3 separate regions of the Homo sapiens genome follow, and regions 1 and 3 are each linked to region 2. The links are contacts of gene promoters, found by promoter capture Hi-C in blood cells and fetal thymus (Javierre and others, 2016). All regions are on one chromosome and are shown on one strand. The core of a region is centred on a gene start or on the middle of the fragment in contact, and the rest is flanking DNA. Distances in the headings are between cores, read along the strand shown.

The links. The method cuts DNA at HindIII sites, captures the fragments that hold promoters and counts their contacts. A CHiCAGO score of 5 or more calls a contact.
Region 1: a contact is called between a fragment that was not itself captured here and the fragment with the promoter of DECR1 in region 2, in 2 of 17 cell types (neutrophils and total CD4 T cells). The highest score is 7.6, in neutrophils.
Region 3: a fragment that was not itself captured here is called in contact with the fragment with the promoter of DECR1 in region 2 in 3 of 17 cell types (neutrophils, M2 macrophages and monocytes); the score reaches 9.9 in neutrophils.

What each region holds. Positions count from the first base shown.
Region 1 is chr8:91,000,789-91,004,640 of GRCh38, forward strand. The region is part of intron 5 of PIP4P2 (phosphatidylinositol-4,5-bisphosphate 4-phosphatase 2); the gene reads right to left. Among named protein-coding and RNA genes, the nearest start is that of C8orf88, 17 kb to the left of the region's middle. The HindIII fragment of the contact is 7,791 bases long and covers 1-3,852 here.
Region 2 is chr8:90,000,161-90,004,012 of GRCh38, forward strand. It overlaps DECR1 (2,4-dienoyl-CoA reductase 1), which reads left to right and starts at 1,317. Exons shown (of 10, transcript NM_001359.2): 1 at 1,317-1,401. The coding sequence starts at 1,333. RefSeq lists enhancers at 661-955, 1,804-1,943 and a silencer at 1,234-1,333. The HindIII fragment of the contact is 6,361 bases long and covers 1-3,852 here.
Region 3 is chr8:91,020,501-91,024,374 of GRCh38, forward strand. PIP4P2 (phosphatidylinositol-4,5-bisphosphate 4-phosphatase 2) reads right to left here. Exons shown (of 7, transcript NM_018710.3): 2 at 756-904. Among named protein-coding and RNA genes, the nearest start is that of PIP4P2, 18 kb to the right of the region's middle. The HindIII fragment of the contact is 3,484 bases long and covers 799-3,874 here.

The DNA of each region.
Region 1 (3,852 bases), core at 75-2,574, 1.0 Mb after region 2:
CTGAAAATTATTTGAGATTATCTCCTAAAATGCCATATCCCATTCTTTATTTGTTCCTTCCAGATCAGATATATAATTGGCATCTTAATAATATATTTTCTCTTAATCTTACATTCATCTTTGTCTCTCTATGCTAGATTCTGGGTAATTCACTTACCTCTATCTTCCAATTCACAACTTTAGTCTTCACCTTTAGCTGATCTGTTCTTTAAACCGTACGTGCATTTTAATTTCTGTAATAATTTCTAGAAGTTCTATTGTTTCTTTCTATATCTATCTGGTTATTTTTTGCAAATTTCTATTTGAGACAATTATAGATTCACAAGCAGTTGTAATAAATAACACATAAAAATACCATGTACGTTTTGCCCTATTTCCCCCATAGTAAATCTTGCAAATTATAATACAATATTATAAACAGGATATTAACATTCATATAATCCACCAATATTCAGATTTCTCAGGTATATGAGTATGGATTTTTCTTTAATTTTATGCAATTTTATCACGTTTAGGTTCATGTATCTATTGCCACAGCTAAAATAGAGAACAGTCTATCACTGTAAGGATCCTTTTATAACCACACCCTCCTTTCTGCCCATCCCGCACCCTGTGCCTGCCACACCATCATTAATCTGTTCCCTATTTCTACAATTTTGTCATTTGAAAAATGTTACATAAATGAAATCTTACTGCAGGTAACCTTGTATGGCTAAGTTTTTTTTTTTACTCAGCATAAATTCAATTCATCCAAGCTGTTGCATGTGTCAAATTTGCTACAAACACTCACATATACATTTCTGTGAGTACCTGGTAATTTTTAAATAGTCTTACATGTTTTCTCTTATTTTTATTTTAAAACATCTTAGGCATAGTTTTAACATACTCCATATTTAATAATTATAAATCTGAAGTTTTTAGAGGTCTAATTATGCTGTTTGTTGTCAATGTTGATTATGCTTCTGGAATCTTGTTTTCTCCTATGACTAGTAACTTTTGTTGAAAACTTATTTTGGCAGATCTCAATATAAAAAAATTTTGGCATGCATAGTTTGGGGGTGCTTTCCTACATACAGAACTTTCATTTGCTTTTCGCAGGCTCCCTAGACTGATACTAACCCTAAACTTTAAGTCAGTTTCTGGAACTAGGTTTTCCTAGATCGCATAAGTGATATAAAAATATAAACCTAAATTCACTGTTCTTATAAATTTTTTCCTCTGCAATCTTCCTTTTCTGGTTGATTTCTTTTTCCTAACTCACTCTTTTCCAGGGGAAGAGTACTTTAAGTACTTTATTGGGAGGAGGCAGTATTCTAACCCCGCTACCTTGTGTGAGGCCAATGCCTTCTCTCTCATTCTTCCAAGGCTGTAGATCCCTAGTGTTGGCATATACCTTCAGGATAGTCCTGGTTGTCACTTAATCTTCATTTTTGGTCCCCAACTGTCATATGAGCTGAGCTATGCATTTAAAAGGATGATTTTTACAGCTAATTGGTTTTTTATATTACTGCATGTGAAAGTCAAGGGCATATACAAAAATGTGGACAGTGAATCTCCAAGCTGAAAAGACCATTCAATGCTCTCAAACATCTAACTATTCACTCTTCAAATTATTAATCTTTCGCTTCACAAAAACACCTTATGAAACACTAGGATTATGAAGAACACCTGGAAAATGGTAGTGTAGCTAGTGCTACAGGAATTTATAAGGGGAAAAGGCGGCAAACAATGTTCTTTACATTACAATTTTCAGACAAGGCAGCCAGGGATGGCTTTATTACACAAGACTTAAGGATAGCTTAAAATGTGAATAGATGGGGGAGTAAGTCATTTCAGCTGATTACATTAGAATTGTTCAGGTGTGAAAAGAAAATTTGTTCAAGGAATAAGCAGCAGAATAACCTTTGTGCCACAGAATGTTTCTACAGATGAAGAGTAGAAGCAAGGGATGTTTCAGCTAATTTTTTAGGTTAAATAGGTGTTTTCTAGGTAGACAAGGGCAAGGAAAGGAGTAGCCAGGCCATTCTAGGTCTAGCAGGATAAGACTCAGGAACAGAAGAAAGAAACTGCATAATATGTTTGTGGAAGTAGAAGTGCAATTTGTTGGGGCTAGGAAATAACTAGGTTGTGTGTGTAGAGACAGAAGAAAACAAAGATATCCCTAGAAAAGTTAGGCAAAGACTAAAAGAAGTTTGGAGTTTGATTTTGGATTTTAGGCAATGGGCTGATAGTAAACCATATGGTACATTTATGCCAATAAGTAAAAGAAGTCCTCAGAATAATTTATATGAAACTAAATATACAAACCTAAAATAACAATGGAAATTGTACCTCTTCGGGTTGTGCAGCATACAACTTGCACAACTGTATGCCATGGCTAAGAAATTGGGAGCCACTAAAAGATTTGATGCCAGAGAATCTAAAATGACGTATGCATTTAGGAACTACCACTCTAGTAAATGAATAGATAATTGCAGTATTGGAGGTCAAGAGATAAATTAGAAAACCAATGCAATAGTCCTGGTGAGAGATGCTGAATACATGAACTGAAGTAGAAATCATGAGAATAAGAGGACAGAATTAAAATGTCAAGGGACATAATTGATAGGATATTACCATTTAAATATGGAGAATGATAAAAAATACACTAATATTTCTTGGTTGGTCAGTTGGACAGACAGGATAACATTCATTAAAATAATATATTCTTTTTCTAGAAATAATGTAGGGGGTGAAAAAGAAAAACATAATATATTTATCAATACACATGGGAGATTGGTTTGCAGAGTAAGGTGGGAATGCTGGGTCAGGTTGTGCTTGAAATGACCATGAGATATCAAGTTGAAATAATTCTAGGCTAGATAGTGAATAGAGATAGTATATTTAAATCTGAAGCTCCAAAGAAATATCTGGGGTCATTTAATGGCATCTAAATGACATAGGAACATAAGAGAAAACCCGGATAAAGTGCGGTCAAGTTCCAACTTTGGAAAATAGCAAAATTTAACAACTTGGAAGAGAAAGTAAAGCCAACAAAGAAGAGTTGTGAGAAGTAGGAGAAACCCAGGAGAAAGCAGTATCTGGAAACCAAGAAAACAAACTTTAAGGAAAAGAAACCATTGTATTAGTCAGGGTTCTCCAGAAAGCCAGAACCAACAGGAGATAGATAGATAGATAGATAGATAGATAGATAGATAGATAGATAGATAGATAGATAGATAGATGAAATAGATAAGAGGCAATTTATCAAGGAAATTGGCTACTGTGATTATAGAGGCTGAGAAGTCTTGCAACAGGGGATCTGTAAGAGTCCCTGGACTGTTGGCAGTGTGGCTCAGTCTAAGTCCAAAAGCCTCAGAATCAGGGAAGCCAATGGCGTAATTCTCAGTCTGAGGAGGAAGGTCTGCGGAGCTGAGGGACCACTGGTGTACGTCCCAGAGTCCAAAGGTCAGAGGGCCTGGAGTTCTGATGTTCAAGGGCAGGAAAAGAGTGTCCAAGTTCCAGAAGAGTGAAAATTGCCTTTCCACTGCTTTTTTTTTTTCTATTGGGCCCCCAGCGAATTGGATGGTGTCCACTCACATTGAGGGCAGATCTTCTCCATTCAGTCCACTGTCTCCTCTAGAAACACCCTCTCACACATATCCAGAAGTAATGCTTTACCATTTCTTTAGACATTCCTTAATCCAGTCAAGTTGACACCTAAAATTAATCAGCACACCCAGGATGATCAATAGTATCAAATGCTACAGAGAAAACAAGCAGGATGAGAATCAAAATATGGAATTTATTATTGGGATGTGAATTTCATTAGAGCAAATTCAGTGGCCCACTGGGGATGGATAGCTAATTGTG
Region 2 (3,852 bases), core at 67-2,566:
TATATTTGGAGATAGAGTCTTTAGGGAGGTAATTCCAGTTAAATTAGGTCATTGAGGGTGGGCCTTAATCCAACACGACTGGTGTCCTCATAAGAAGAGGCAATTTAGATATGGAAAGGTACACAGGAGGATCATGTAAAGACACAGGGAGAAGATGGTCCCACAGTGGCTCCACAAGAAACCAACTCTGCTGACTTGTGGCCTCCAGAATTGTGAGAAAACAAATTTCCATTTAAGCCACCCAATCTGTGGTAGTTTTGTTCCTGGACCAAACTGAGGGTCAGGCTGCTATTTCTTGCTGCCAATAATGAGATGTCGATGAACTGGGGATGAAGAAAGTTTTTATTTCTGTAACCAGTTACAGGCAGAAGGCCTGGAAATTATCACCAGACCAACTCAAAATTACAAAGTTTTTCAGAGTTTATATACCTTATAAGCTATATGTCTACATGTAAGTGTACATTCCTCTGAAGATATAAATGTTTCTTTATCAGCATTTGGAACATGCCAGGCAAATAGTAAACACTCAATATCATCTACCATCAGCCTCAGCCTGGGGCCTCACACCCATCTTCTTTTATCTAAAATTCTGAATTAGCTATGAATATTCTCATTTTACGAATGAGGAAAGAAATGTGATCTGAGCTAATGCCTTGTGTCAACAGGTATATTACACTAAGATGGAGAATGATATACTGAATCTGTGTTTGCCTTTAACGTGTGTTTAACTTCGAGAAAAAAGCCAAGGCTGGGCGGTCGCAGTCACGCTGCATCCGGCGACAGGGGGCGGTGTGTCCTGCGAAAAGTCAAAACGCCGGAAGCTGCCCTTAGTGTTTTTCAGCCTCTTGGTCTTAGGGAAAGTGAGGCCGTGTTTTACATCCAACATATTATTATTCTGATAATATGTGACTTGGCGCCACGCGCACTCTGCACTTAAACACGCACTTAAGGGATAAACACATACGACTGAAAAAGAGTTTCGCCCTTGATAGGCAGTGTATGGGGTGCGCAGCTGCAATCTGCAAACCCTTGCAGGGCGCGGGGTTTCGTACACCCGCTCAAGGACGCAAAGAACCTCCATTCTCTGCCATACAAAGCACTCCTGGCCCAGAGAGCAGGAAAGAGCATCAGCTAGGCCCAGCTAGGCGGCGCCCTCGGCCGGACTCTGAAGGTCAGGGCCGCTGGGCGTCCACGCCGCCTGGGTCCCAGTCCCCGTCCCATCCCCCGGCGGCCTAGGCAGCGTTTCCAGCCCCGAGAACTTTGTTCTTTTTGTCCCGCCCCCTGCGCCCAACCGCCTGCGCCGCCTTCCGGCCCGAGTTCTGGAGACTCAACATGAAGCTACCGGCCAGGGTTTTCTTTACTCTGGGGTCCCGGCTGCCCTGTGGCCTCGCTCCTCGGAGGGTAAGGCGGCCGGGGGCGCGGGGAGCGAGGACAGGGCGTCTCGACGCGCAAAGAGAGAGGACAGGGCGTCACGGGGGCTCGGGGAGCGAGGACAAGGCATCCTGGGGCGCAAAGAGAGAGGACAGGGCGTCCCGGGGGTTCGGGGAGCGAGGACAGGGCATCCCGAGGCGCAGAGAGAGAGAGGACAGGGCGTCCCGGGGCCTCGGGGAGCGAGGACAGGGTGTCCCGGGGCTCAAAGAGAGAGGACAGGGCGTTCTGGAGCGCTAAGAGAGCACAGAGCAACCCGGGGAGCGAGAGAGAGGACAGGACGTCTCGGGGCGCAAGAGAAAGGGCAGGAAGTCTTGGGGCACAAAGAGAGGACCCGGCGTCCCTGGGGCTCAGGGAGCTAGGACAGGGCGTTTTGGGGCGCAGAGAGAGAGGACCACCAGGTCCCGGAGCGAAGGGCAACGCCGGGAGTGAGCACCGGGGCCCGGGTCGTATTCCACTGTCAGATGAAGCCCTGATGTGTGTAGGGGAATAGGGAAGAGACGTGATTTTCGAAGTTTTCACAGTTCTGCAAGTTTCCAACTTGTGTGTAAATAGGTAGAAAGAGGTAGGGAAGGATACGGCGCCCGTCCACCCCTTAAGGAGTGAGAGGGGATCAGGCCGAGCGAGCACTGACCTTTGACGTCCTTTGTTGTGAGGAAAGTCCATCTATGTGTTAGTTATGGAATTAAACACTAATACAAACAAATTATCATAAAAATGAAACAAAAACAAAACCCCAGCTGTTTATAGACTCCCCTTCCCAGATGTATAGCTGGGAGAGGTCCGTCTCACACTGGCTTCCCCCTCTCTCTGGCCCACACTCCTGTCACCATCTCCATTGCACCCATAGTGGAAATAGCTAGGAAGTGAAAACAGCTAGGAAGAAGAAAGAGAAACAAAAACAAAAAGAAGCAATAATATCCAAGACAAGCCCTCCCCACATCTAAATTACAAAATTGTTATAAGTAAACTAAAAAGCACATTTTCTTTAGCCAGGTAGAAAAATTAATATGTCAACTGTGAAAAAACTTCTTTTGATTTGATAGAATAGACAGCCATGGTGTTGTTTTTCAAAAAATATGGGCAGCAGTAGTTCCAAATAGGAATACAAAGAATTAGTATGGTGGTTCCCTCAAGTAAGGTATCTTTCTTTTAAAAAGTGAGATTTGTTCAGGGTTAGGGTTTTGCTGATTTTTTTTCTCTCCCTGTGAAAACTGGGTTATAGATCATTATAAAGGAAGCCCATATTTTCTGATACTTTTCAGAGACATTTCTCATTTGAAATCTACAACAGCTCTGTGATGTCTTCAGAGATTTCATTTTTTAACACACATCATTAGGATTGTAGCAATAAGGTCATACAGACCTTATCCAAGCTCTTCTGACACCATTAGACAATACAGTTTGAGAAGGAGAAAATGAACTCATTTAAAAATTAATTGTAATCTGACAATTTTGAAATTCCTTTGCTGAAGAAAAATATGGAAGTTTTGAGGTTCAGGGTTGGGAGGCAAGAGAGGTACCTGTTAGTGTGGTTTGTCCCCTTCCTAGCACATGTAGCCTCAAGTTTGAATTCCTGGGAGAAGAAAAGTCTTTACATCTGTGATGTGGGAGGTTGTTCCAGGGAACATCATGTTTTTGTGGGCAAATACAAGTTGTTATAATTAAAACCCCTAATTTGAATATTTTTGTTACCAAGAACCAAGGCAAATGTTTAATTTGTTATAAAACCTGTTTGTGAAGTGCTGTGTTAAATTGTGCTGCTGGCTAATAGGCCTCATTTCAATTTAATAAATATTTATTGAGGACTGGCTTTATGTCTGGCCCTGTGCTATGCCCTGGGACTCAAAATTTAAAAAATACGAGCCCTGCTCTCAACTGTTCTCAAGTTGCTCTCAGTTCTATTGAGGAAAACATTCAGTCATTCAGTTGTTTATGAGGAAACACTAATTAATTAAGTACCTATTAAGTATTGGGCATTCTTTGGCAATTTGTGGTTGAAAGACATTCCTGCCTTCAATGTACTATAGTCTCATATATGTATTTTAAGCCACAAATAATAACCAATGAGTAGGCCTTGAAATCAATTTAGTGGAGCAAAACAGCACTTTGGGAGGCTGAGGCGGGTGGATCATTAGATCAAGAGATCAAGACTATCCTGGCCAACATGGTGAAACCCTGTCTCTAGTAAAAATACAAAAATTACTGGGTGTGGTTTCACACGCCTGTAGTCCCAGCTACTTGGGAGGCTGAGGCAGGAGAATCGCTTTAACCTGGGAGGCAGAGGTTGCAGTGAGCTGAGGTCGCGCCACTGTAGTCCAACCTGGCGATAGAGTGAGTGAGACTCCATCTCAAAAACAAAAAAATGGAATAGAATAGGATATATCTAAATTCATCTCATGTAGTAAGGTTGTTCATTTTGTG
Region 3 (3,874 bases), core at 1,291-3,790, 1.0 Mb after region 2:
AAAAATAAAACATCAAAGATAAAATTAATATTTAATTGCAGATTTTGAGAGATCAAAATGTAATATATAAAGCCTAACTATGAAAGAAATATATTTCATCTAAACCAGTGTATGCTTTACCAGTTTATTACTTGAAGCTATAAAAATACTGCTGAAAATTTAGTTGCTCCCCAAAGCTCAATTTTTAAAAAAGGAAAGGTGTTATTCAATATTTTAAACATTCCTAAATTACTATCAACTAAATTGAATAAAATGTCAAACTATTTGTAAACACTTTGGCACAGATGCTAATAATAAATGCATAATCACAAAAGCCCAGAAAAACAATAGTGACATCCTACAGACATAAAATAACTTCAAATAATTTTCCACATAAATAGGGCAAAGTTTACATCTGTAATGAAGTTTAGTACACAATATTTTCATTTTAATGAAAACAAGAATGAATGTAGTTGTGATGTGGATAGATATTGAAAGTATTTATACGTAACTGCCATGCTCAGTCTAGTTTTTGAAAGTAAAAAGCCAAAAGGCATTATATTTAAATTCACCATGAAATTCTCTTAATGGGGTTAGCTTTAAACACAGTGAGGTATCCTATGATGAAAGAGAGACAGAAGAAAAGACAGGAAAAAAGATTACCATATTTGTATCCAGCCCACATATACTTTTAAGTAACATTATTGAAGTACTTCCTTTAGGAATAAAATGTCAAATAACAATTTATATTTTTTCTAATGGAAATCTCCACTTACCGTAGCTTCATTGCAAACTGTGCACTTAACCACATGCTGGTGAAGCTTGCCATCCAAATTGATTAGTGATTGGCACACACGGCAGTTTATTACTGGAATACCACTGGCGTCTGGACTGGCAATGGCTGTATATGGAGGTGGGAGCTCCGCTGAAAAGATATTAGTCACTGAATCAGAGTCTTGGAGAAATTACTATGGCTGGTTTGAGTATAGAGGCAATATAAGTAAAGAAGAAACAATCAAGATTTTCCCACGTTCTTTTATTTATTTTTCAAAGCTAGCCAATTTATCTTACTTTTAGAGCACAAACATCCATGAGACTCTTATCAAGTAAAATAATTCTTAACTCTGATAAAATCTAAATCATGTTTGCCTAGGTCTATCCCAATAACCCAGTTTCCTTTTACTAATCTATACTCAAAATGTCACTCCATTCCTATTAGTAAATTCATACAGTCTCTAACAGGAGAGTGGTAATTTATGCCTACAATAAAAATTTTACACAAGTGATCTGATTCCCAGGAAATAAAAATGGTCGATGAAAGCAAAGTTTTAAAATTGCTTATCCATACATATAAATTATGTAGCTGTCATGCTCTGTCTTTATATTGGAACCAGTATAATGACTGCTGGCTATGACAAGAATAAAACAAGGTGTTGGAGGAAGTCAAGAAGAAACAAAAATGAACCTAAGAAAACTAAACTTCTCAGCATGGAACAAAAATGGGAACCATGCTAATTTCAGACACAAAACAAAAATAAAGTAAATATAACAATTTTTAGTCTCAAAATTTACCTACCATTAAAAATGTAAGAAATGCACCAAAGTGTTTATGAGTAAAAAAATGTAGTATGTGGGATTAAAAACTTCAAAAACCATAACAACAACCACCACAAAAAGAATGGGGAACCAGATGAAACAAGTAGCAAAATGTTGATAACTGATGAATATAATGACATGGAAGGTCATAGTTTCACACTACTTTTGTGTATGTTTGAAAATTCCCATAATACAAAGACACACACACAGTGTTTTTTTTGAGAGTCCTAAGGTTGACTCAGTGAGTGAGTGAAGGGTGGAGGCCCACTTTCAAAATCAAGTATCTACCAGAAGTGTATATTTGTTACAAAAGTCTGAGAAAAGGAATCCTGATATACTACTCTGGAATGGGATTTCTAAAGGAGACTGCCTAACCCCTTTCTGTAACTATCTCAACTACAGGAATAGAAGACTTTTCCAAGGTAAAGTTTTGTCTTGGGACATTTAGAAAGGGCCACACTCTAACATATGATTGAAGCACGAAAGAGAACTGGTATCTCAAGAGGCTTCTGTAACACTATAAAATATAATCACAATAGCTAAGCATAATAAGAGCTATTTTTGAAATAAAGGTTTTCTATCCACTGTATTAGGTCCTAAACTTTGTGATATTTTAAAAAGAATTAGAGCATAAAACATTTTGGTATGTTTAAAATACACATATTTCTACCTGATCCTTGGGTTATAATATAGGATTTTTTTCAGACTGCTAAGGATTAGCAACAAGTGGTATTCGTTCAAATGATTCATAAGACAAATTTCTGCAGCAGCCAAGGCTCTGAAAGAGGCCACTTTGAAATGACGATATGCTTATGTTTCTGGGAGGCTTATAACAGAACACTGCCAAACACTGAAATTCAAAAGAAGCTGTACATGTCTTAAATTATAAAAATAATTTTAAATCCATGAAAAGAATTTGAGCGTGATCCAGAGTGACCTGTAATGTATTAATCAAGAAGAAAAAAACATGTTAAAGAAACAATGAGTCAACAATATACTTAAGGTCTTGCAATTTGCAGATTACTTTGTCAGATCTCAATAAAGACATTATTCTTGGGGAAAGAATATGTACCTCACTAGAAATTCAAGACACACTGCCTGGTATATGATAATGAATATTATTTTAATAATTATTTGCAGTAGCATTATTAACAAAAGTTGCTTCCTCTCTGGCCTTTTCCTTGAGTTGTACAGTAACATTACATAGTTCTCTCGTAATCCCAGGTCTCTATCTTACACAGTATGATAGAAAGGAAACTTAAATGCAAGACAGTTTTATAAAGAAAACAAGGGCATTAGGGGGAGAGGAGGAAGTGACATATTGCTACACTACATAAAAGGACACCAACCCATACACTCCTCAGCTTTGCTCAAAGAAATCTCCTAAGAAAATTTCAGAGGGTGATCTTAACAATCATTAAAAGGGCATTAGAGCCAGTAAAACCCTGTGAATTTTTCTTCTAAGATTTGTACTATATAATTTTTAATCTGCCAAAAAAAAAACGCCTTCAATGACAGAAATATGCTCAAATCTACTCTTTTGGAGGCTTGGGAAGTGGAGGGACATGGACAGAACAAGCAGTGAAGATTATAAATCTAATATAAGAGAGACCATAAGCTCCACGAGGCCAGGGGCACATCTGGTTTGTCCACAGCTACTTCACCAGCGCTTGTCATAATGCCTGGTCTATGATGATGCTTACTAAATGTTTATTCAATGGTTGAATTAATTAATAAATCAGCGAGTCACTAAAATTTATTAGACATATCTATTTGTCTTGGAAAAATAACACCAAGTATTAGGTTGCTGCAAAAGTAACTGCGGTTTTTGCTACGACTTTCAAATAGCAAAAACCGCAATTACTTTTGCACCAACCTAATACATTAACCCTACTCTCCTTGCAGAGGAGCTAAGGTTCTAGCAGGGGAGTGCAGCTTGATGGAAAACAAGGGCTTCTTTTATATAGAAGACAACTCTCTCCAAATAATGCACTGAGAGAGGTGAAGTAGTCAGGGGACACTGGCCTGGCCCACCAGATAAATGGAATCAATCCAAGAGATCAATAGAATGACAGATGCTGCAGCCTAATTGCCACAATAAACAGTGCTTCCTGGCCTTTCATTTCAATGTTCTATCCATTACTTCAGCCTTAAACTGATTTAGACAGATTATTTCTTGTACTTTTGGCCTTTCCCTTTCTCTCAGATTTTACCTCAAGGAAACATTTACTTGTAGCTCCATCTCCTCTTATATGGGACTTGTAATTCTGGAGATTCCACAGTTAGTAAACCTACAATA